Regions from separate parts of the Homo sapiens genome. Here all the other regions are linked to region 5. The links are contacts of gene promoters, found by promoter capture Hi-C in blood cells and fetal thymus (Javierre and others, 2016). All regions are on one chromosome and are shown on one strand. The core of a region is centred on a gene start or on the middle of the fragment in contact, and the rest is flanking DNA. Distances in the headings are between cores, read along the strand shown.

The links. The method cuts DNA at HindIII sites, captures the fragments that hold promoters and counts their contacts. A CHiCAGO score of 5 or more calls a contact.
Region 1: a fragment that was not itself captured here is called in contact with the fragment with the promoter of RAB3GAP1 in region 5 in 4 of 17 cell types (megakaryocytes, endothelial precursors, erythroblasts and 1 more); the score reaches 6.1 in megakaryocytes.
Region 2: a contact is called between a fragment that was not itself captured here and the fragment with the promoter of RAB3GAP1 in region 5, in 5 of 17 cell types (M2 macrophages, total CD4 T cells, naive CD8 T cells and 2 more). The highest score is 6.3, in M2 macrophages.
Region 3: a contact is called between a fragment that was not itself captured here and the fragment with the promoter of RAB3GAP1 in region 5, in 15 of 17 cell types (total CD4 T cells, naive CD8 T cells, activated CD4 T cells and 12 more). The highest score is 11.7, in total CD4 T cells.
Region 4: a fragment that was not itself captured here is called in contact with the fragment with the promoter of RAB3GAP1 in region 5 in 9 of 17 cell types (fetal thymus, naive CD4 T cells, activated CD4 T cells and 6 more); the score reaches 11.3 in fetal thymus.
Region 6: a contact is called between a fragment that was not itself captured here and the fragment with the promoter of RAB3GAP1 in region 5, in 9 of 17 cell types (total CD8 T cells, naive CD8 T cells, naive CD4 T cells and 6 more). The highest score is 10.4, in total CD8 T cells.
Region 7: a fragment that was not itself captured here is called in contact with the fragment with the promoter of RAB3GAP1 in region 5 in 11 of 17 cell types (naive CD8 T cells, total CD4 T cells, erythroblasts and 8 more); the score reaches 9.0 in naive CD8 T cells.

Annotation. Positions count from the first base shown.
Region 1 is chr2:135,614,372-135,617,303 of GRCh38, reverse strand. It overlaps R3HDM1 (R3H domain containing 1), which reads right to left. Exons shown (of 27, transcript NM_001378107.1): 4 at 1,111-1,152; 5 at 547-636. Among named protein-coding and RNA genes, the nearest start is that of MIR128-1, 50 kb to the left of the region's middle. The HindIII fragment of the contact is 842 bases long and covers 992-1,833 here.
Region 2 is chr2:135,684,576-135,687,592 of GRCh38, reverse strand. The region is part of intron 21 of R3HDM1 (R3H domain containing 1); the gene reads right to left. Among named protein-coding and RNA genes, the nearest start is that of MIR128-1, 21 kb to the right of the region's middle. The HindIII fragment of the contact is 3,400 bases long and covers 23-3,017 here.
Region 3 is chr2:135,704,064-135,707,338 of GRCh38, reverse strand. The region is part of intron 21 of R3HDM1 (R3H domain containing 1); the gene reads right to left. Among named protein-coding and RNA genes, the nearest start is that of UBXN4, 36 kb to the left of the region's middle. The HindIII fragment of the contact is 4,045 bases long and covers 1-3,275 here.
Region 4 is chr2:135,592,315-135,595,225 of GRCh38, reverse strand. All of the region lies in intron 1 of R3HDM1 (R3H domain containing 1), which reads right to left. Among named protein-coding and RNA genes, the nearest start is that of R3HDM1, 62 kb to the right of the region's middle. The HindIII fragment of the contact is 3,984 bases long and covers 1-2,911 here.
Region 5 is chr2:135,050,439-135,053,815 of GRCh38, reverse strand. RAB3GAP1 (RAB3 GTPase activating protein catalytic subunit 1) reads right to left here and starts at 1,524. Exons shown (of 24, transcript NM_012233.3): 1 at 1,491-1,524; 2 at 1,331-1,386. The coding sequence starts at 1,508. RefSeq lists an enhancer at 812-951. The HindIII fragment of the contact is 10,130 bases long and covers 1-3,377 here.
Region 6 is chr2:135,725,940-135,729,082 of GRCh38, reverse strand. No RefSeq gene overlaps it. Among named protein-coding and RNA genes, the nearest start is that of UBXN4, 14 kb to the left of the region's middle. The HindIII fragment of the contact is 6,612 bases long and covers 1-3,143 here.
Region 7 is chr2:135,664,331-135,667,235 of GRCh38, reverse strand. All of the region lies in intron 19 of R3HDM1 (R3H domain containing 1), which reads right to left. MIR128-1 (microRNA 128-1) reads right to left here and starts at 1,839; the gene lies at 1,758-1,839. It overlaps LOC124907893 (a long non-coding RNA gene), which reads right to left. Exons shown (of 2, transcript XR_007087245.1): 1 at 679-2,905. RefSeq lists an enhancer at 2,422-2,521. The HindIII fragment of the contact is 348 bases long and covers 1,151-1,498 here.

The DNA.
Region 1 (2,932 bases), core at 163-2,662, 560 kb before region 5:
CCAGGTTGGAGTGCAGTGGTGCGATCTGGGCTCACTGCAAGCTCCGCCTCCTGGGTTCACACCATTTTCCTGCCTCAGCCTCCCGAGTAGCTGGGACTACAGGCGCCCACCACCATGCCCGGCTAATTTTTTTGTATTTTTTTTAGTAGAGATGGGGTTTCACCGTGTTAGCCAGGATGGTCTCGATCTCCTGACCTCGTGATGTGCCCACCTCGGCTTCCCAAAGTGCTGGGATTACAGGCGTGAGCCACTGCACCCGACCAACATTTTTTAACTTTATAAAAATTAATTTATAACTTTCTTAAAGCCACATTCCTAATTAATTACATGATTCCTAAGTTCTTCCAGAAGAGTAATAATTGCTCTAAGCCTTAGATTGAAGCAAAGAGGTTTTCTAACTTTTCATATATCTCTTGGGTGCCAAGTATTATTGAATAAGTTTCATTTAGTCAAAATAAAACAAATATAACAAACACAACTTAAATCATATACAAAAATTCTCCAGTTCCACCATGTCTTGAAATAACATTTGTTTTGCTTTTTTACCTGGTTCTCCTGTGATATCTCTGGTGCAGGGGGTGGTGGAGATTCTTCACACACTGCAAGGCTCCGAACTAGCTTTAACTTTGAGCTTGACTAAAGAGAAGTATTTATAATTAACACTACATTTCAGAAATCTAGGGCATATCCAAAAGCCCCCTAGAAAGAGTTTCTAAGTTTCTTTATAGTTTCTGCCATGTATAACAGTAGATGAAATGTGCAAGTTAAATATATCATTAAACACTACTGAAGGCCTTTGTTAAGAAGGAACACAAACATTTGCAGTTTTGAAAATTATAGCAATAGAAAGAATGGGAATAATTCCAACTTCATATCCCCAAAAATGGTGAGAAAGCGATTTTCTCTACAGATAAAGAACCATCAAGATAAAAAAAGCAATGCACAAAAGCGACTAGGCAAGACAAAAATCCCAAATAAAACAAAATAAGCTTTCTGCCCCCCATAAAATATGGAAGAACTAAACTGAATGTAGTGCTATATGAAAACAAGGATTCATCAAGCATGAAGGAAGGCCCTTGGCATGCCAGCACACCAAAATATTTACTATACCTTAGACCTTTTTCCTGTCTGTCCAAATGACTGCAATGGCCGCTGAATATACAAGAAAGATTTGTATTAAATTTCATACTGAAACAGAAAATTTGCTTCTTAATTCATAGTCCTAAACCACAGAAAAACTAACTGTGCATAAAGTATGAAAAGTGAGGAAATCAAAGTTGGTTTCAGTAAAGGAGTACTGATTCCTCCCAGAAGCACACTTGCAGAAGTTTCTTTAAAATCCTGATAGGTTGGCATTTTTATTATTTTTCTTTCTTAGGCATTTTTCTTTAAATCAGCAAATGGCCACAATTTCTGTGTTAATTGAGTACAATGGAACTTATATGGTGACTTCTTGGTAGTGAAATAAAATATACTTCATTATTTTACAACATATTATAGTTTAGCCAAGGTTAAGGAAAAAGAACACACACAAAAACCAGCAGTTAAAGGTGGATAAACTCAGAAAAGTTCCAAACTTAATGTTTCAAATGCACAGTAAGTCAGAGTCCAACCACAAATCTACTGAGGTGTTTCAACACTGTATAAAGTACACCACCAGTTTATTAGTGATAGAAACCTATTCATCAGGTCTGAGGTGAGGCAATGAAGCAGAAAGGAAGAAAAAAGGGCAGACTTCCAATACGGATGTCCAGCATGACTGACAGGCCGACCATCAGTCACATGATTGGAGAATGCGGTAAGGCAAACTAACTCAAGTTTGTGATACAAGCTTTGGTTTGGGAAACCAGCTGAAGCACCTGTGAACCAGAGCCAGATAGGTTTTAAACACTCCTTTCTTCCAATTTTCCTCCCCAAACCCAACACCAAATAGTACACGGCAAAAGTATCTATCATTTTTACTTCTTAACATGAGGGAGCCAGTCTGGTAACAAACATAAAACAGATACAAAATCCTTAATATCCAGACTAGTATGCTTTACATTAAAAAAAAAAACCCATCATTTTATTTCAAAAAGGCCTTCCTTGTAGAGTCAACAGAAACAAGAGTCTACAGTACCAGTATGTCCTGCTCCCATTTTGAGCCAAAAGTTCTTCAAAATTAAAAAGCACTGTATTCTTGGGATTTTAACCCTAGATTATACAAACTACAGAACAACAAAAGGAAAATAGAAAAAATAAAAGAAAAATGACTTTGTTTCTTATACAGAAGAAAATAGCATGTGTGCGCACACATGAATATGGCAGTGCCACCTAAGAGGTCTTCTGCATGTTGGTATTGTCTTCTGTTTTTACCTACTCTCTAACTTGTTCAAGAGGATTTCTAATTAACTGTAACTCACATCTAACAATAAAAGTAAAATAAATTGTACTACCATCTAGTCTAGGTGGTAGATGCCACCATCTAGGGATTACAGGAAAAAAAAAAGAGAGAGAAAAGCAACAGGTGAATACTATGAAAATGCACATACCTAAATGAGTTCTGAAGAAGCAGAAGGGAAAATAATTTGTGACTTACTCCCAGTCCTCTGCTTTAATCTCTTGTAATTTTAAGTATCACTGGTATAAAATCTTCTATTAAAAATTCTAAAAGGAAAGGGGTCATTAACTGTCAATGTAAATCCTGTATTCATATGCAGAAAAGCTGGACTTAAATTTTTGAATTTGCTTCTTATTAGTGGGTAACCATGGTCAAATTACTTCAGTTTACTTTTATCTGTCTAAAAGTTCATACTACTTGCACTAATTCACAGGATTCTTGAAAGGATTCAGTGAAAGCGTAGCTAACAAAGGGGCTTTGAAAACTCTAAAGTGTGTCATAAATGTAATCGATTATTAAAGGTTAGGAACTGACCATGTCAGAAAACCAATG
Region 2 (3,017 bases), core at 473-2,972, 630 kb before region 5:
TTCTCTATGATTTCTTCAAGCTTTCATACTTGCTTTTTGGAGAAGTATTCACTCATTACAATGATCTGGAACAGAGCTCAGAAACAGGTTAAGTGCTAAAGACATGTGAACTATTAAAATGGATGTCACAAATCCTTCAAAGACACCATAACTGTTTTTCTTTTTTTGTTTGTTTTAAACACGAGAGCTACCCTTTTAATAAAATTTCAAGTGTACAACACAATATGACTATAGGCAAAATGTAGTATAGCAGATTTCCAGAGTTCATTCATCTTGCATAAAAGAAATGTTATATCCACTGAAGAGTAACTCTCCACTTCCCCCTCCCTGCAGCCCCTGGCAATGACCATTCTACTCTCTGCTTCTACAAGTTTGACTATTTTATTTTCTGTATTTTTGAGACAGAATTTTGCCCTGTTGCCTAGGCTAGAATGCAGTGGCACTATCTCGGCTCACTGCAACCTCTGCCTCCCAGGTTCAAGTGCTTCTTGTGCCTCAGCCTCCTGAGTAGCTGAGACTACCGGCACCACCATGCCCGGCTAGTTTTTTGTATTTTCAGTAGAGATGAAGTTTCACCATGTTGGCCAGGCTGGTGTACACTCCTGACCTCAGGTGATCCACCTGCCTTGGCCTCCCAAAGTGCTGGGATTACAGGTATGAGCCACTGCGCCCAGCCAAGTTTGACTATTTTAGAGGTCATACTGTGGAATAAGGCAGTATTTGTCCTGTGACTGGCTTATTTTACTCAACATAATGTCCTCAAGGTTCATCAACATTGTTACATATGGCAGGATTTCCATCTTTAAAGGCTAAATAATGTTCCATTACAGTACATATATAACCTTTTTTTCTTTCAGAGAGGGTCTGGCTCTGTCGCCTAAGCTGGAATACAGTGGCGTAATCATGGCTCACTATAGCCTTGACCTCCCAGGTTCAAGTTATCTTCCCACAACTCAGTTTCCTGAGTAGACTAGCTTCACAGGTATTTGTCACTATACCCAGCTACTTTTTAAATTTTTTGTAGAAATGGGGTCTCCCTGTGTTGCTCAGGCTGGTCTCAAACTCCTGGGCTCGAGCCATCCTCATGCCTTGGCCTCAAAAAGTGTTGGGATCACAGGAATGAGCCATACCACATTTTCTTTATCCACTCATCCACCAATTGACATTTAGGTTGTTTCCACATCTTGGCTATTGTGAATAATGCTGCAATGAATATGGAGATGTAAATCTCTCTTCGAGATACTGATTTCAATTCTTCTGCATAAATATCTAGAAGTATTTGGAATTGCTGGATCAAATGATAGTTCTATTTTTATTTTTTTTAGGAACTTCTGTACTGTTTTCTATAGCAGCTACACCATTTTACATTCCCAACAACAGTGTTACAAGGGTTCCCTTTTTTCCACATCCTTATCAATACTTAATAGCTTTTGATTTTTTTGATAACAGCCATTTTAACAGGTGTGAGGTGATATCTCATTACGGTTGTGATTTGCATTCCTCTAATGATTAGTGATATCAAGCATCCTTTCTCTGGCCTGTTTGCCATTTGTATGTCTTCTCTGGATAAATTTCTATTCAACTCTTTAACCCTTTTTTTTTCTGAATTACAGGATTTCCTTAATATTTTGGATATCAGATATACAGCTGGCAAATTTGCAGTTTCCATATACAAAGTTCTAGACATGTAATTCCTTCCACCAGTCCTGGAAGGTATTTCTGTCTTACAAATGAGAAAACAAAAGTACAAATAAATAACTTGTCCAAGGTCACACTGGCTTGAAGACAGGTTTTTATGATTCCAAAGCCCATTTTTCTAACCATATCATGCCACCTAATAACTAATATTTAAAGGCATGAGTTTTAGTTATCTGAAAAATTAGCTTATTGGACCAGCATATTCCCTGGTATCAGATCAGTGGGATTCCATGATGAAGAGTCTCAATGAATATAGCATGTATTTAGAGAAATTTCTCAGATAAATATCTGAGAAAACAGCAGAAGACTAACCAATTAGTCATCAGTTACAAGTACAGTGTGGTGAAATACACAAACAAATACAGGCTGGTGGAAAAAAGTTCGGTATATCAGTTGTAATATTAAATGTGAATGGATTCTCCCATCACATGTCAGACATGATATGCTCCTACAAGAAACCAAAACCAAGTTGTAGACATTTTATATTCAAAACTATTTATAAACTCAATTTGAGTGTGTGTATGTGTGCTATTTTGTTCATGTTGCCGTACCATATCTGTGTTAGTATATGAATAAGCACAAGAAGGAAAGTGAGGAAGGAAGGACAGAAACCAGGAGAGAAACACGGGTTAACTAGCATGTGTGTGTGTGGGAAATGGTCCAGTGGTAGGGTAGGGAGAGAGAAGGTTAGGACAATAAAAAACTGCCAGGATGACATAATATTACTTATATAAAATTATGTTTGTCAAGAAATTAGAAAAACAAAACAGGATGTTTTATACTAGTATTTACTAATCTGATGTTCATGATACATTATTATGAAAAAAATGCAGGCTGGGAGCAGTTGCTCATGCTTGTTACCCTAGCACTTTGGGGGTAGAGGTGAGAGGACTGCTTGAGCCTTGGAGTTCGAGACCAGCTTGGGCAACATAGTGAGACCCCATCTCTACCAAAAATATAAACAATTAGCTGAGTGTGGTGGTGCGTGCCTGTGGTCCCAGCTACTTAGGAGGCTGAAGTGGAAGGATTGCTTGAGCCTGGTAGGAGAAGGTTGCAGTAAGCCATGATCATGCCACTGCCCTCCAGCCTGGGTAACAGAGTGAGACACCTCAAAAACAAAGAATAAAATGGAAAAGAAAAAAAAAACGCAAGAGAATGTGTATTTCACTAAAACTCACCACCCAATTCCTCATATGAGTATTTATGCGTGTATTGTTTGTGTAGCCAGGAGGCCAATGTGACAGAACACACCCTAGCCTGTGAATGCTGGTTACCTGGGGATGGGGGGTGGAGCAGGGCATGATGATTACCTTTCCCTT
Region 3 (3,275 bases), core at 174-2,673, 650 kb before region 5:
AACACTTTAGAAAAAAGAAAGCACAGAAGTCAGTATTTACACTCTCTCTTTAAAAATACAAATATATTATACCAGAGATGAATCAGTTCTATAGTAATTTCACAAGTTTCTCCTCCTTTGGAAGACAGGAGGGAAAGAAGGACTTTTAAAGTAAAGCACCAGGCCTAGTCATTCAAAGTTGATATCCTACCCTTTAACAGAAAAATGAAACATCAATCTCAAATAATCCCATTTATCCCCAAACTTCCTGAAAAGTCCTGACATAAAACTATGAATGGGCCAGCCCCCCGCCCAGCCAGCCGCCCCGTCCAGGAGGGAGGTGGGGGGGTCAGCCCCCCGCCCGGCCAGCCGCCCCGTCCGGGAGGTGAGGGGCGCCTCTGCCCGGCCGCCCCTACTGGGAAGTGAGGAGCCCCTCTGCCCGGCCACCACCCCGTCTGGGAGGTGTACCCAACAGCTCATTGAGAACGGGCCATGATGACAATGGCGGTTTTGTGGAATAGAAAAGGGGGAAAGGTGGGGAATAGATTGAGAAATCGGATGGTTGCTGTGTCTGTGTAGAAAGAGGTAGACATGGGAGACTTTTCATTTTGTTCTATACTAAGAAAAATTCTTCTGCCTTGGGATCCTGTTGATCTATGACCTTACCCCCAACCCTGTGCTCTCTGAAACATGTGCTGTGTCCACTCAGGGTTAAATGGATTAAGGGCGGTGCAAGATGTGCTTTGCTAAACAGATGCTTGAAGGCAGCAGGCTCGTTAAGAGTCATCACCACTCCCTAATCTCAAGTACCCAGGGACACAAACACTGCGTAAGGCCGCAGGGTCCTCTGCCTAGGAAAACCAGAGACCTTTGTTCACTTGTTTATCTGCTGACCTTCCCTCCACTACTGTCCTATGACCCTGCCAAATCCCCCTCTGCGAGAAACACCCAAGAATGTTCAAAAAAAACAAAAACAAAAACAAAAACAAAAACAAAACTATGGATATGTAAACTAAAAAAAAAAATCAAAATATCCACTTTCAACTGTATTAAGGCCACTGCAATAAAAATTATTACCAATATTTTTTTCCTGTTTAGGAGCTGCCTCTTCTCTACGTAAGGTAGAGCCAGACAAACTGCTGTGAAATGCTTCTACAAGATCACTGGAGATTGATGAAAGACATTATAGGATATCCCACAGGTTTCTTCTGAGTTTTTTTTTTTTTTTTTCGAGATGGAGTCTCCCTTTGTCACCCAGGCTGGAGTGCAGTGGCGCAATCTTGGCTCACTGCAAGCTCCGCCTCCCGGGTTCATACCATTCTCCTGCCTCAGCCTCTCGAGTAGCTGGGACTACAGGTGCCCGCCACCACGCCCGGCTAATTTTTTGTATTTTTAGTAGAGACGGGGTTTCACCATGTTAGCCAGGATGGTCTCGATCTCCTGACCTCGTGATCCGCCAGCCTTGGCCTCCCAAAGTGCTGGGATTGCAGGCGTGAGCCACTGTGCCCGGTCCTTCTTCTGAGTTTTTTTACAGTGCTCATCTTATTCCTTTAACATTATAGGGTAATTCAGAGAAATTCCCCTTCTCTCCAGTTAATTAGTTATTCATTCTTACCATGTTTTGGAATTGAAGCCATGATAAAAAAAATGACAAATATAATGTATTTTTAAAGTTAGAAACTTACTTTATCAAAGTGTGATTTTATTTATTTATTTATTTTAAACAGACAAGGTCTCACTCTATTCCTCAGGCTGGAATGCAGTGGTGTTATCATAGGTTACTGAAGCACTGAACACTTGGGCTCAAGTGATCCTCCTGCCTCAGCCTCCCGAGTAGCTAACTACAAGCGCCCACCACTGCTTAATATCAAGCAATATCAATGCTTGATATTAAGATATATTCACTAGATCTTGCAAATTCAAGTGACAGTACATTGCTATTTTAATGCCTTTGACATTTAATACCTGACCTAGGGCAAAGCACCATGTATTTGGGTGTCAGAAGGGAGCACAGGGCTGTGTTCCAACTCTACTTGTTATTCGTTATATGAGTCTGAACATGTTATTTGAACTTCAGCTCTTTCATCAACAAACATGCCATTAGCACTTAAACATGCAATTAGCACTTGCCTTACCAAACTATGATGAAAGATTTGGCCAAATAATTCAAAGTGTAAACAGCCAAACATAAAAATGTACAACTTCATTAATAATCACAGAGCCAAATTAATACATGTTGCCATTTATGAAATGTGAAAACAGTAAAGCGGAGTCAGTACATATTGGGACTGTGAATCAAAGATTTTGGCAAAATGTACCATGGACCTTAATAACAGTCACATCCTTTAACCTACTAATTCCCTTCTAAGGACTCATGCCAAGGGAGTAATTAAAATTGCTTACAAGATGGTTCAATAAAGTAAAAAGATACGACCTAAATGTTCTGCAATAGGGTAAATATATTATTGTATATTCATAAAATGTAAGAGTATGATCATTAAATTATATTAATGAATTTTTAATAGGATGAAAAAATTTTTACTATGACCAATAAGTGAAATATATACAGTAAGATTTCAGCTACATTAAAACTCTGTAAGAGGCTGGGTGTGGTGGCTCATGCCTGTAATCCTAGCATCTGGGGAGGCCGGGGAGGACGGCTCACTTGAGGTCAGGAGTTTGAGACTAGCCTGAAACCCTATCTCTGCTAAAAATACAAAAACTAGCTGGGTGTGGTGGTGCATGACTGTAATCCCAGCTACTTGGGAGGCTGAGGCAGAAGAATCACTTGAACCCGGGAGGCAGAGGTTGCAGTGAGCCGAGATGGCACCACTGCAGTCTGGCCTGGGCGAAAGAGACTCTGTCTCAAAAAAAAAAAAAAAGCATGCATGCATTTTGTAATTATAAACAATACTTTAAAATGCTTTTTGAAAACTGAAAAGTTTAGCTTTTAAATGTTATAGTAGAAAGTTAATTTCAATGAAACAATTTGAATCTGCTTCAGAAAACTTCAGCAGATGTCAGAGTATGGCCATTTGAAGATGTTTATGCTGATATTCTGCAATATAAACCTTCAGTTCAGCCGGGTGTGGCGGCTCATGCCTGTAATCCCAGCACTCTGGGAGGCTGAGGCAGGCGGATCACTTGAGGTCAAGAGTTCGAGACCAGCCTGGTCAGCATGGTGAAACCCATTTCTACTAAAAATACAAAAATTAGCTGGGCGTGGTGGTGGGTGCCTGTAATCCCAGTTATTCAGGAGGCTGAGGCAGGAGAACTGCTTGAGCCTAGGAGGCGGA
Region 4 (2,911 bases), core at 8-2,507, 540 kb before region 5:
TATATCTGGGAGGAAAATGGATTTGATGGCAGAACGATGATTTCAGTTTTGCCTACAGTTAATTTTAAGGTATCTTCAGGACATTCAGGTGGAGAAATCTAACAGAAAATTGGATATATAGACTTGGAGCTCAGGAAAGAAGTCAGCTAATGTTATTTATTTGGTGGAGAATCACTATATAGATTGAAGTTTTGAGTTATCAATGTTAATGAAGTTGCCCACAAGCCTTCATTGAAAAGGGGGGGGGGTGTAGAATCCCTAGGGAACACTGAACCCTTAAGGATTGAGGAGGAAAGTGGAAGATCACAATGAGTATACATGATTTGGTAATAAAGTTACCAGGAGATGCGAAGTTAGAGGAAGGTTGTCAGAATGAAAAAGTGTGTAGGCCACAGAAGCCAGTAAGGAAAGATGGGGAGAGGCTAGAGGTTTAGGAGGGAAGAAAGGTAATAAGAAGGAAAATCTGAAAGTGGATGAAATGAGAAAATGTAATCAGAAGTACAAACTGGTGAATAAGCCTGAAATGTATACATTATCCTAAGATACTGAAGGGAATGTGGCAGGAAAAGGAGGGAATTCATACCTAATAAATTTCTTCTTTTTTACCCCGAACCTATTTGCTAGAAGAGAGGGAGCCGGGATGGCTGTAGGGCTTGTGGAGAATGGTGACTGAGTCACTAAGGGGTGGTTCATTAAGGCCAACACGAACATTCAGGACTGTTTTGGCACAGTCCTTCTAAGGAGAAGTCTGTAAACTACAAGACTGGGGGTATCTCTAATTCTTTGACTGAGGGCATTGTAATGAGTGAGAGTGATGCAAATGAGAAAGCTCAGATGCTACTTGGCTATATAATAGGCTAAATGTTTTTTTCACAGCCATTTCCAGATCTGACTTTTTATCACTGTATGGTATAGTAGCTTAAGAAACGTAATTTAAAATGCCAAATCAATACATAAAAAGCTGGAAATTAGGAATGCTAGAGTACTAAAAGAACTATACATATATCTTAATGTAGCAGTGATCCTAGTTTAAATGAAAGCAAAAGCTAAAGGAAGTGTTTTCACTGGAGAACCAAAGCAGGGGAGATGTGGGAGACAAGCAGCTCCTGGTGCCCAGGTGACCAAGCCCACCACAGAAGCGGGTGAATGGCTTGCCTAACTTCTCTGAGGATGGCATGGTGCTGGTACATAGAAAATTCTAGAGAAGGCCAGGCGCAGTGGCTCATGCCTGTAATCCCAGGACTTTGGGAGGCTGAGGCGGGCGGATCACCTGAGGTCAGAAGATTGAGACCAGCCTGGCCAACATGGCAAAACCTCATCTCTACTAAAAATACAAAAATTAGCTGGGTGTGGTGGTGCGCGCCTGTAATCCCACTACTTGGGAGGCTGACGCATGAGAATCGCTTGAACCTGGGAGGTGGAGACTGCAGTGAGCCGAGACTGTGCCAGTGTACTCCAGCCTGGGTGATAGAGTCAGACTCCGTCTCAAAAAAATAAATAAAATAATAAAATAAAAAAGAAAATTCTAGAGAATATGGTACCCTGAAGACTAAACATGTTGGGAACACTAAGAGATACAACCTTTGGCATGGACATGAGCTAATTCGTGGCAAACACTAGCAAAATGGTAGTGGGCAGTGGGCCAGAGAAAGACAAAACTGGAAGATCATGAAACGGCTGTTCTTGAGCTCATGAGGAGATCCTGGATAATCCTGGGGATAACCTGGTGAGATTCTAAAGGGGTTTAGATATTGGCAGATATAGGTAAGAGACAATGCAAGAAAGTCAGGGCCATTAATGTAACTCTAAACCTGAAGTTAATGACCTCCTAATATAGTGCTAGTGAGGGTAAAATGTATTTTGCCTTAATTCTGAACCTACCATAGTCCAGGGTTATACTGAGAGCTCCCCATGTATGTGCTAAATGCAGGACTGAAATAAATAACTCAGGGTGTAATATGATCTGATTGGCATGAGGTAAAATCTCTTTTAAAGACTACACACAGGGCTAGGAGTGGTGGCTCGTGCCTGTAATCCCAGCACTTTGGGAGGCTGAGGTGGGTGGATCACTTGAGGTCAGGAGTTCGAGACTAGCCTGGCCAACATGGTGAAACCTCAACTCTACTAAAAATACAAAAATTAGCCAGGTGTGGTAGCAGGCGCCTGTAATCCCAGCTATTTGGAAGGCTGAGGCAGGAGAATCGCTTCAATCCAGGAGGCACAGGTTGCAGTGAGCCGAGATGGCACCACTGCACCCCAGCCTGGGCGAAAAAGTGAGACTCCATCTCAAAAAGAAAAAAAAAAGACTACACGGAGGTAGAGTATGGTGGCACATGCCCGCAGTCCCATCTACCACAAGAAAGGATCCCTTGGGCTCAGGAGTTTGAGGGTGCAGTACACTACGATAGCGCCACTGCATTCCAGTCTGGATGACACAGCAAGACCCTGCCTCTTAAAAAATAAAAATAAAAAAAAATAATAAAAAACTACATGGAGGAAAAAAAAAACCCAAACTGGTATTACCATCTAGTCATGCTTTGAGAAATAAACAGCAAAGAACATTCAAAAGGTTTGGATTCCTGGAAACTGAGCTATGGATAATAAGGATGTGAGAGGAGAGCTTAAGATAACAGGCATGTAAGAGAAAACATAGTTTTTTTTGTTTGTTTCCATACTGGATTGTTTACAATTCATTTTTCAAAAAATCATTCATTCTTTCAAAAGTGATCTGTTTAGAGATGCTTTTAAGGTACAAAATCAGCTAAAGGGAAGTGGTCAGAAGGAGAAAGATCACTCACTCAGTCTTGACCTCGGAGTTATCTCACATATAATTACCATAAAAGTAAATTACTTCCCACATAGGGTACACCAAAGACATTATCAATAATTGGAAAATAAGATATTGTGTAAT
Region 5 (3,377 bases), core at 275-2,774:
TTTACAGGTAGTACCAACTGGCTTACATTTTAACTATTTGCTGTTTGTTGTTTTTTAAAAATATATGGGTCAAGTTTCTGCTTTTCCCTTTGTATATAGCTCTGGACACCCAGTACCTACTCAATGAAGTCTTGCCAGTGTGGTTATGTCTTACTGACACTTTTATGAAGGGTACCACAGGTCTAACTATTATTCCAACAAGGACCTTTTATATTTTCCTGTGCCACCTAATGACACGACATCCACAAATTTCCTCTCCCAACCAGAAAGATTATAAAATGCTGTAACAGCGTAAACACTGACTTCAACACCCAGGAAACTGAAGGGTTTCTGTGACACTTAACAGAAACCTTCTCGATCTAAGCTATCACTCCTCCACAAACTTGGCTTTCAACTAATTTCAGTAATAGAACAGTTTCACCCAGACAGCTGTTCATCTGAATTTGACAGGCACAGGAAGCCTGGGCACAGTACCCACTTTAATGTAACAACTTAAATCAAAGCATTCCAAAACCATATGCAGACTTTTTAAAAAGGTTATTCTAAAAGACAGGATGGGCGGAGGCTCACGCCTGTAATCTCAGCACTTTGGGCGGCCCAGGCTTGAGCCCAGGAGTTCAAGACTAGCCTGGGCAACACAGCGAGATCTTTAAAAAATTAGTTGGGCGTAATAGCGCGTGCCTGTGGTCCCAGCTCCTCCCGAGGCTAAAGCGGGAGCTTCACTTGAGCCTAGGAGTTCGAGGCCGCAGTAAGCTATGACCTCGCCACTGCACTCCGGCCTGGGCGGACAGACTGAGACTCTGTCTCCAAAAATAAATAAAAATAAAAAATTAAAGACAGCATGGAGATGGTGGGAGTGTGACAGATGGACAACTACCAATACTCTGAAGAAAGACTTCCTCCTGAAAAGGGTATACCAACGTACACGGGATGAGGTGCGGCACAACCTACCAAGTTTACTGCTTACGATAATGAGTTAAACGGTAATGAAAACCGGAACGGTTGTTGCAGCCTCGGAAATTTTTCTTGCGAGTGGGTAACAACCAGAAAACCAAAGTCTAAGGGAAGCGGTCTGACAGGAGAGAAAACAAAACTTTCTGAGAGCCTGAGCCTCAGGGATTGGCTGACGGGGGCGGGCCGGGTGTTGCCAGACGCGAGACGCGGAAGAGGCTTGCGGTTGACCAAAGAAGACTGGGGGAGGAGACCCGGGACCCACGGTATTACCGTTCCCGCACAAGTGGCGTCACTTGTGGTGTGTCTGGGGTCAGGGAAGCGGCTAGGGGACGCCAGGGCCCATGGGAGCTGGTAACCAAAAATGCGATTCACTCACCTTTCCCATTCCGAGGCAGTGGTGAAGTCCGTGATCTCAAATACCTCGGATTCGGGCTGCGGGAAGGGGAAGGAGAGAAAAAGAAATTAAGCCCCAAGGCGAAGACATGAGGAACGAATTTAGATAGTGACAAGGATTAAGTAGGGAGCAAAGAAATCACCTCACTGTCGGCAGCCATCTTGAGGAGCGCCGGGCCTGGCGCTAAGGCTGCCGGGAAGAAGAGCGAAAGAGAACGGGGCGCGTCCCCGCCCCCGGAGCCCCCGCCCCCTGTTCATGAGTCTTGCCCTAGTAAGTAGGAGTGCTGCTTCTTCGCCCAGGTCTGTTAAGTCTTTAGTCCGCCCTCAGCTGGTTAATAAAACTCCGCTCTAGCTGGTTTCATAAAACTTGAAAATTTCCTGTGATGAATACAGAAAGGGAACAGAAGCCAAGGTGATAGGACAAGACCCTAAACTCATGTGGATAAGATTGTATTAAAAAACCTAAAGCATGTTGGGTTTGTTTTCATTCAACCCATATTTGTAGTTAGTACCAATTAGCTTACACTTTAACTATTGGGTTTCTTTTCATTCACCCTCTATTTATTGATTGTAAGGCAATAAACTAGGTGCTGTAATACCACTTCTACCCTCTGCCCCTGACCCTGCAAGAAGTTGCTCAGTTGATTGTCCTGAAATAAAATCATACTAGTTACCTGGTTTCTGGGAAGAGCAACATGGTGTTCAACAAACGCTTCATTTTTTTTTTTTTTTTTTTTTTTTTTTTTTTTTTTTTGAGACGGAGTCTTGCTCTGTCGCCCAGGCTGGAGTGCAGTGGCACGATCTTGGCTCACTGCAAGCTCCGCCTCCCGGGTTCACGCCATTCTCCTGCCTCAGCCTCCCGAGTAGCCGGGACCACAGGCGCTCGCCACCACGCCCGGCTAATTTTTTGTATTTTTAGTAGAGATGAGGTTTCATCGTGTTAGCCAGGATGGTCTCGATCTCCTGACCTCATGATCTGCCCACCTCGGTTCTGTCGCCAGGCTGGAGTGCAGTGGCGCGATTTCGGCTCACTGCAATCTCTGCCTCCTGGGTTCAAGTGATTCTCATGCCTCAGCCTCCCGAGTAGCTGGGATTACAGGCATGCGCCACAACACCCAGCTAATTTTTGTATTTTTGGTAGAGATGGGGTTTCACCATGTTGGCCAGGATGGTCCCGATCTCCTGACCTTGTGATCCGCCCCCCTCGGCCTCCCAAAGTGCTGGGATTACAGGTGTGAGCCACTGTGCCTGGCCTTGTCTTTATTTTAACACCTTCAAGTTATTTATATATATTCTGCATCTGAGCTTTATATTGTTTATATATGTAGCAAATACCTTCTCCCACTCTGCAGCTTGCTTTTTCACTATTTTTTTTTCAGACTGGTGCTCTAAAAAAGCAGACACTACAATTCCAAGCTGGCGAAGTCTCTGAAGTCCAACTGGAAGTGCTAGGGCAAAAATTATGCATCAGGAAATGCGTAGCCCCTTGTACTACTGCCTTGCTCCGTCAATCATTGGCCAGGATCTCCCCAAGAAAACAGTGGCCTTGGCTATCACTGTTTGCTCAGTTTTTGGCTGGAGGAAGCACTCCAAGAATAGCAGGTCCTTGGCTCAACAGTTAGACAAACCTGATAAACCCAACAGCCGTAGGCTGTTCATCTAACCACACGCCTTACAGCTGGGCAGTGAGTCTTTCTTTAAGGGAGGTCTGAGCAGCACATCTTTTGTGTCTGCCACTCTCTTTTAATAGACAGCCTCTTTTAACATGCACCTACAATGTTTTCGACATCCTGTGCTTTCTCTTTCCTCTGGACATGCTGTCGTTTAGAATCTGCAATGTCCTTGTGTCTATAGTTTACCTGGTAAAATTTGTCCTTCAAGTTTCAGCTTGGATATTTGCTCTTCTGTGAAGACTTTCTCTGCCCCCTGTTAGGAGCTTATTTGTATTTGCAACCAGTTTGGTGGTAATCGATTGGATTCTCACTCAAAATTCATATGTTGAAGCCCTAACTCCTAGTACCTCAAAATGT
Region 6 (3,143 bases), core at 528-3,027, 680 kb before region 5:
AGGATATTATTAGAGTTTATTACTTGCAGAAATGAGCCAGTCTGGCAGATCACCTGAAGTTAGGAGTTTGAGACCAGCCTGGCCAACGTGGTAAAACCCCATCTCTACTAAAAATACAAAAAATTAGCCGGGTGTGGTGGCGTGTGCTTGTAGTCTCAGTTAATCGGGAGGCTGAGGCAAGAGAATCGCTTGAACCTGGGAGGCAGAAGTTGCAGTGAGCCGAGATTGCACCATTGCATTCTAGCTTGGGCAACAGAGCAAGACTCTGTCTCAAAAAATAAATAAATAATTAATTAAAAAACTATTTAATGTATCTATTTCAATGCTTCCTCTTCCTCAACCCCCAAAGAACAAACTTTTATCATTTTTCTTTCTGATTCAGAAGTTCCCACTGCCTTTTCTTTACAGCCCTCCAGTATTCTTATGTGGGTGAAATCAAACCAAAATGAATACAAGTAGAGACATTGAGGGGAAAAATAATGAACAAATATGCACTGTGTAGCCTGAGCATATGTGGATGTGGGGGTGGATTCAAGGGCAGCTGTATCTGTTTTTCAAGCCGGTGAAGGTCATGGGCTGAATGTGTGTGCAAGAGACTCAGGTTCTTTTAGCACCAGCTGTTAAAGGTCTTCTAGAATCCCAAGCAACCAGGGGCCAGCTTTGAATCCCACCAGCATGTATATAATGCCTTTGTGCTAGCACTTCACTGGGCCCTAGAAGACGGAACTCATGCCCTTAGCCTTTGGAGACTATAGATAACATATTATCTGTTGGGCAGGCAGTGGTCTGGGATTAGGGGGTCTTGCCTCTGCTGAAGTCTTAAGTTTGCATGTTTTCTGTTGTTGGTAACAGGTAGAGAATCCAACTCAGCTGTTTCCTGAGGTAGCTGCAGATATGCTGACTTTACTCTGCCCAAGCTAATCTGGAACTGTGGGTTCTACTCAGAGGCCTGTGTTGCCACACTATTCACAGGCCATAAGGCCCTACCTAGTGGGGTCAGGAAAACATTTTCCTAGCTTGGGAAAGGCTCACATCCCTATTTTGTTGCCAGCTCTGATGCCAACCTAATAATTTTTAATTACCTGTGGCACCATGGCAAACACACCTTGTACTCTAGATCACAAACACGTACCCAATATATCCATGTTCTTTGCAAACCAAGAGCTTCAAACCATAAGTCATTCTCAGTTTTCTAATATTAAGTAGCATAAACAGACAGAATGTTATGGACTGACCTCTATCATTCCCAAAGAAAGGACTGCTGGAGCTGCTAATATTGGCACAAGAAAGAATAACACTTTATTGGTAAAAGTAGTATCTGGCCGGGCGGGGTGGCTCACACCTGTAATCCTAGCACTTTGGGAGGCCGAGGCGGGCGGATCACAAGGTCAGGAGATCGAGACCATCCTGGCTAACACGATGAAACCCCATCTCTACTAAAAATACAAAAAATTAGCCAGGCATGGTGGCGGGCGCCTGTAATCCCAGCTACTCGGGAGGCTGAGGCAGGAGAATGGCGTGAACCTGGGAGGTGGAGCTTGCGGGGAGCAGAGATCGCGCCACTGCACTCCAGCCTGGGCGACAGAGCAAGACTCCATCTCAAAAAAAAAAAAAAAAAAAAAAAAAAAAAAAAAAAAAAAGCAATATCTACCCCTAAAAATGGTCAGGGGTCTGGAAAAACCCATGATAAGGATTATTGCCAGGGCTATGGGACATCGAAAGCTGTCTTTGAGATTACCAGTCTAGACCAAATCACATCTTAAATGCCTCCTGTGTGTGCTTCTACCTCCCACCATTTTTATACAGGGGAAATCAGACTTTAGATTAAAAAAAAAAGGGGGGAATGTAGATTAGGGAACGTGTGCATATTTTTGTAATGGTGGTGGGATTGGCCAATTTCATTGTTATTTCCATGTGATTGTCAGGGAATGTGGTGGTGGTGGCTAGGAGTTAACTCTACAATAGCCTCTGATCTTTTTTTAGCTCTAGTGTCTTACCTATTTACTTTGCACAGTATTCAATTCCTACAAGGTAAACTAAGAGTTTAAAGCAAAAACTGGTTTACCAGAATTCCTACTGCAGGAGTTAAAGATAATTTTTTTTTTTTTGAGACGGAGTTTCGCTCTTCCGCCCAGGCTAGAGTGAAGTGGCGCAACCTCGGCTCACTGCAACCTCTGCCCCCCAGGTTCAAGTGATTCTTCTGCCTCAGCCTCCCAAGTAGCTGGGATTATATAGGCACCCCACCACCACACCCGGCTAATTTTTGTGTTTTTAGTAGAGATGGGGTTTTGCCATGTTGGCAAGGCTGGTCTCGAACTCCTGACCTCAAATGATCCGTCCGCCTCGGCCTCCCAGTGCTGGGATTATAGGCATGAGCCACCGTGCCTGGTCTAAAGGGAATATTCAAGAGAAACTAATTGCAGGCCAGGTGTAGTGGCTCATGCCTGTAATTCCAGCACTTTGGGAGGCCGAGGCGGGTGGATCACCTCAGGTCAGGAGTTCGAGATCAGCCTGGCCAATATGGCGAAACCCTGTTTCTGCTAAAAATACAAAAATTAGTGGGGCATGGTGGCAGGTGCCTGTAATCCCAGCTACTCGAGAGGCTGAGGAAGAATTGCTTGAGCCCAGGAGTCTAAGGTTGCAGTGAACTGAGATCGTGCCACTGCACTCTAGCCTGGTTGATACAGTGACTCTGGTCTCAAAAGAAAAAAAAAAAATAATTGCCAGAAACCATGAGGTTGTGACTTTTTTTTTTTTTTGAGACCGAGTCTTGCTCTGTCACCAGGCTGGAGTGCAGTGGCACGATCTTGGCTCACTGCAACCTCTGCCTCCTGGGTTCAAGCAAATCCCCCGCCTCAGCCTCCCAAGTAGCTGCGATTACAGGTGCGCACCACCATGTCCAGCTAATTTTTTTGTATTTTAGTAGAGACAATGTTTCACCATGTTGGCCAGGATGGGAGGTTGTGACTTTTTTGGTCTCCATCCCCATGTATGATTGAAGAATTGTTGCTGAAATGCTAGCCTTACTTACGTGTCCTCTCCATCTTTGACTCTCTGCATGTCAAAAATAATTAAAATTCAACAAGCCTTGGAAGCAAGAGATTTTCACAGACCTCACACTCTTACTCTTTTCCCTGGCTATG
Region 7 (2,905 bases), core at 75-2,574, 610 kb before region 5:
TGTTCTATTTTTAACTCTCACTTTAACCAAGAAGAGAGCAGGAAGGAAATGCAGTGCTCAGCACAAAAGTATTGAACAGGCATTAACAGGCTGATTTTATTTTATATAGGTGATCTGAACTAGCATTTGTTCTAAAGGAAAGCATTCTTAATAACACAGAAATAATCAGAAAAATTACAAAAAGTATTAAAGAAATGCTTAGAATACCCATGAATCTAAGGTTATTTCACTTAATAGTACCTATTAATTTTTTTTCCAGACTGTGCTTGTACAATAGAAGCACTGTGAAGGTAGTTTTCTTTTTTTTTTTTTTTAAAGATGAGCCATTTTACTAAAGCCAAATTTATTTGTAACTAGGCATCTACAAGACCAAATTGTTAAAACCTCAAGCTTATAATCTTGGGCTTCTGTCTGTGGCACTATTTTAGTAGGTGGGCAAGTTCAACTAAAGCCAGCCCCATGGGTGTATTTGGAAGGAGATGCAATTGCCATCACACTTGATTATCCCTTCTCATCTCTCATCCCCTCTTCTCTCACTCCTGTGCCTGAAATAAACATATACATATACAAAAACCAATTCTAACAAAAACAGTCACACAGAGTTTATTGCTCACAGCTATTTAAAGAACTATTCCATGGAAGAGTCTATACAACTCAAGGAAATCTGTGGGTACTTACCAGATATATTTGGCTCCAGATTTCAGTGGCGGCAGGTTAATGGAGAAGGGAAAAGGGAAATAGGTGGATTTGTAGGTATTATACAATGTCTGAATCTATGCTGAATCACACAATACATACTAAGAAATGCTCACAGAAATCAATGAAAAAACAAGAATAGCCAGAGCCACTACCTAGTAATTTACAAATACAAAATTCCTATTACTTGGATTGAAAGTTGTCAGTAAAGAAATTGACTTTGTGCCTTGAGTCCCTATTTGACATAGCCGACTCTCCTATCAATAAGCCCCCTCACCTGCTTACCCAGTAGTGCTGACTTTTCTTTGCTCGCCTTTTACACCCTAGTTACTCTTAAATTTGTGCCTTCAAATTCTGTCAACAATATGCACACATTGAAGACTGTTTATCCTAACAAGTTTCTTCCATAGTGTCGTTCATCAGGATCCTACCATAGTCTGCTGGTAACAAAGCTTAATCAACTTGGAACCATATGATTCTGGGTTATCTGGAAAGCTAAGACTAAAGATATAATACATTGATAATCTTTGAAGTTATCAAATGGTTGCAAAACTAAAAGTATAGTTTCACAGAATCATTTTGCTTTCCACAGGTATGCAACAACATCATCGTTTGGAAAAAAAAATTAAATTATATCGTTGGTAAGAACCGAGACCAAGTAGCTTCAAATGCATTTAGGTGTATTAGGTCCGTTTGATGTCATGCTTTCATATATAACAATATCCCTAAAAAGTTGTGTAGCAATAGGGAGAGACATATTTGACTTCTGCTAATGAGTTTGGTATGCTTAAAACATTAAGCTTTTTAGATAAGCTCAAAACCAAACTGAATTTGTCATCCAAATCTACTTTGGAAAAGAAATAAGCAATAGCTTTCACAAATTTTTAACAGGTAAATTATATTAGGCCAAAGATGTCACTTAAATTCTAATCCCTATTTCTGAGTATGATGCATGATTTAAAGGTATTACAATTAATGAAAAATATAAACAAATGTTAACACCTTCATACAGCATTAAAAAAAGCAAAAAAGCAGTGGAAACCTGAGTAAAAAGAAGCCAGGAAGCAGCTGAAAAAGAGACCGGTTCACTGTGAGAAATGTAAACCTCTCAGACAGTGCTACGGCCCCGAATCCAACAGCTCAGGAACAAGGCCAATTATTGCAAAATATTAAATGTATATGGTGAAGCTACAAACTTGTCAAGAGTCATAAGAATAATAAAAGCTACACAGAAAACAGCTAGGGCTTTGTAAACCTAAAATCTTCACTATAATTACTACCTGCAGAAAGTTTCTTTATACTATACCACACTCCTTATATGCAGTGTACTTCACAGTATTCAAAGCATACATTTTATGATAAAGGTTTAAAGTAATAAATCTTTATTAGTGAAACTGGTAAGTAATCTGATCTTTTGAAATAGTTGCTTTCATTGACTCCAGTTATTGACAGTTGGTTGCCAAGCTGTTACAAACCAATTCTCTATTATTCTACCTTTTAGAACTAGAAATGACTCACATGAGACACAAAGAATTATGGAGTTTTACAGTACACAGAGGCTTCAACAGACAACACAGTAAAAATTCCATACTTTGCAAATGAGTCCAACTGAAACTCAGTGGCTTTAAGTGATATGCCTAACACCAGTTACAAATGACTAAGGGCCATCAGGATTCTGACTTTTATTTTGTTGTTCTTTCCCATTATACAGTGCATTGTTCAGAAAGTCTTATGTGTGTAGCCAGGGTTTCTTCTGTTTCTGTTGACAGGGGTTTACTCAACCTTGTTTTGAATGAACAGTTCAGTAGTTTCACATTCATAACAAAAGACTAGTACATTCATTTCCCCAGCAGTAATGTTAGTCCTGATTTCAGTTGTGGTCCACTGGGACACATGGATAAAAGACCTAGAGCATTTTATCCTTGAGATATTTCCCCATCCTCCTCCCTATCCACCAAAGGAAAAATAATGAAAGATCCTGTATTTCTACTGCCCATACCCTATCTGGTCTAAAAATACTTTGCTCAGTTGGGCTTGTTAATTTAGGGCAAAATTTCTTTAAGTTCAAATACAAACTTTTAAACATTACTTGTGCCACAGTGAAAAAAAATTGCTCCAAGTCTACTAGTGTTTTCATTATTTGGTTGAATAATTAGTTTCACCCTTTTATGTAATTAAAAAAAAACATGCTTCTTGACACTGTGGGGTA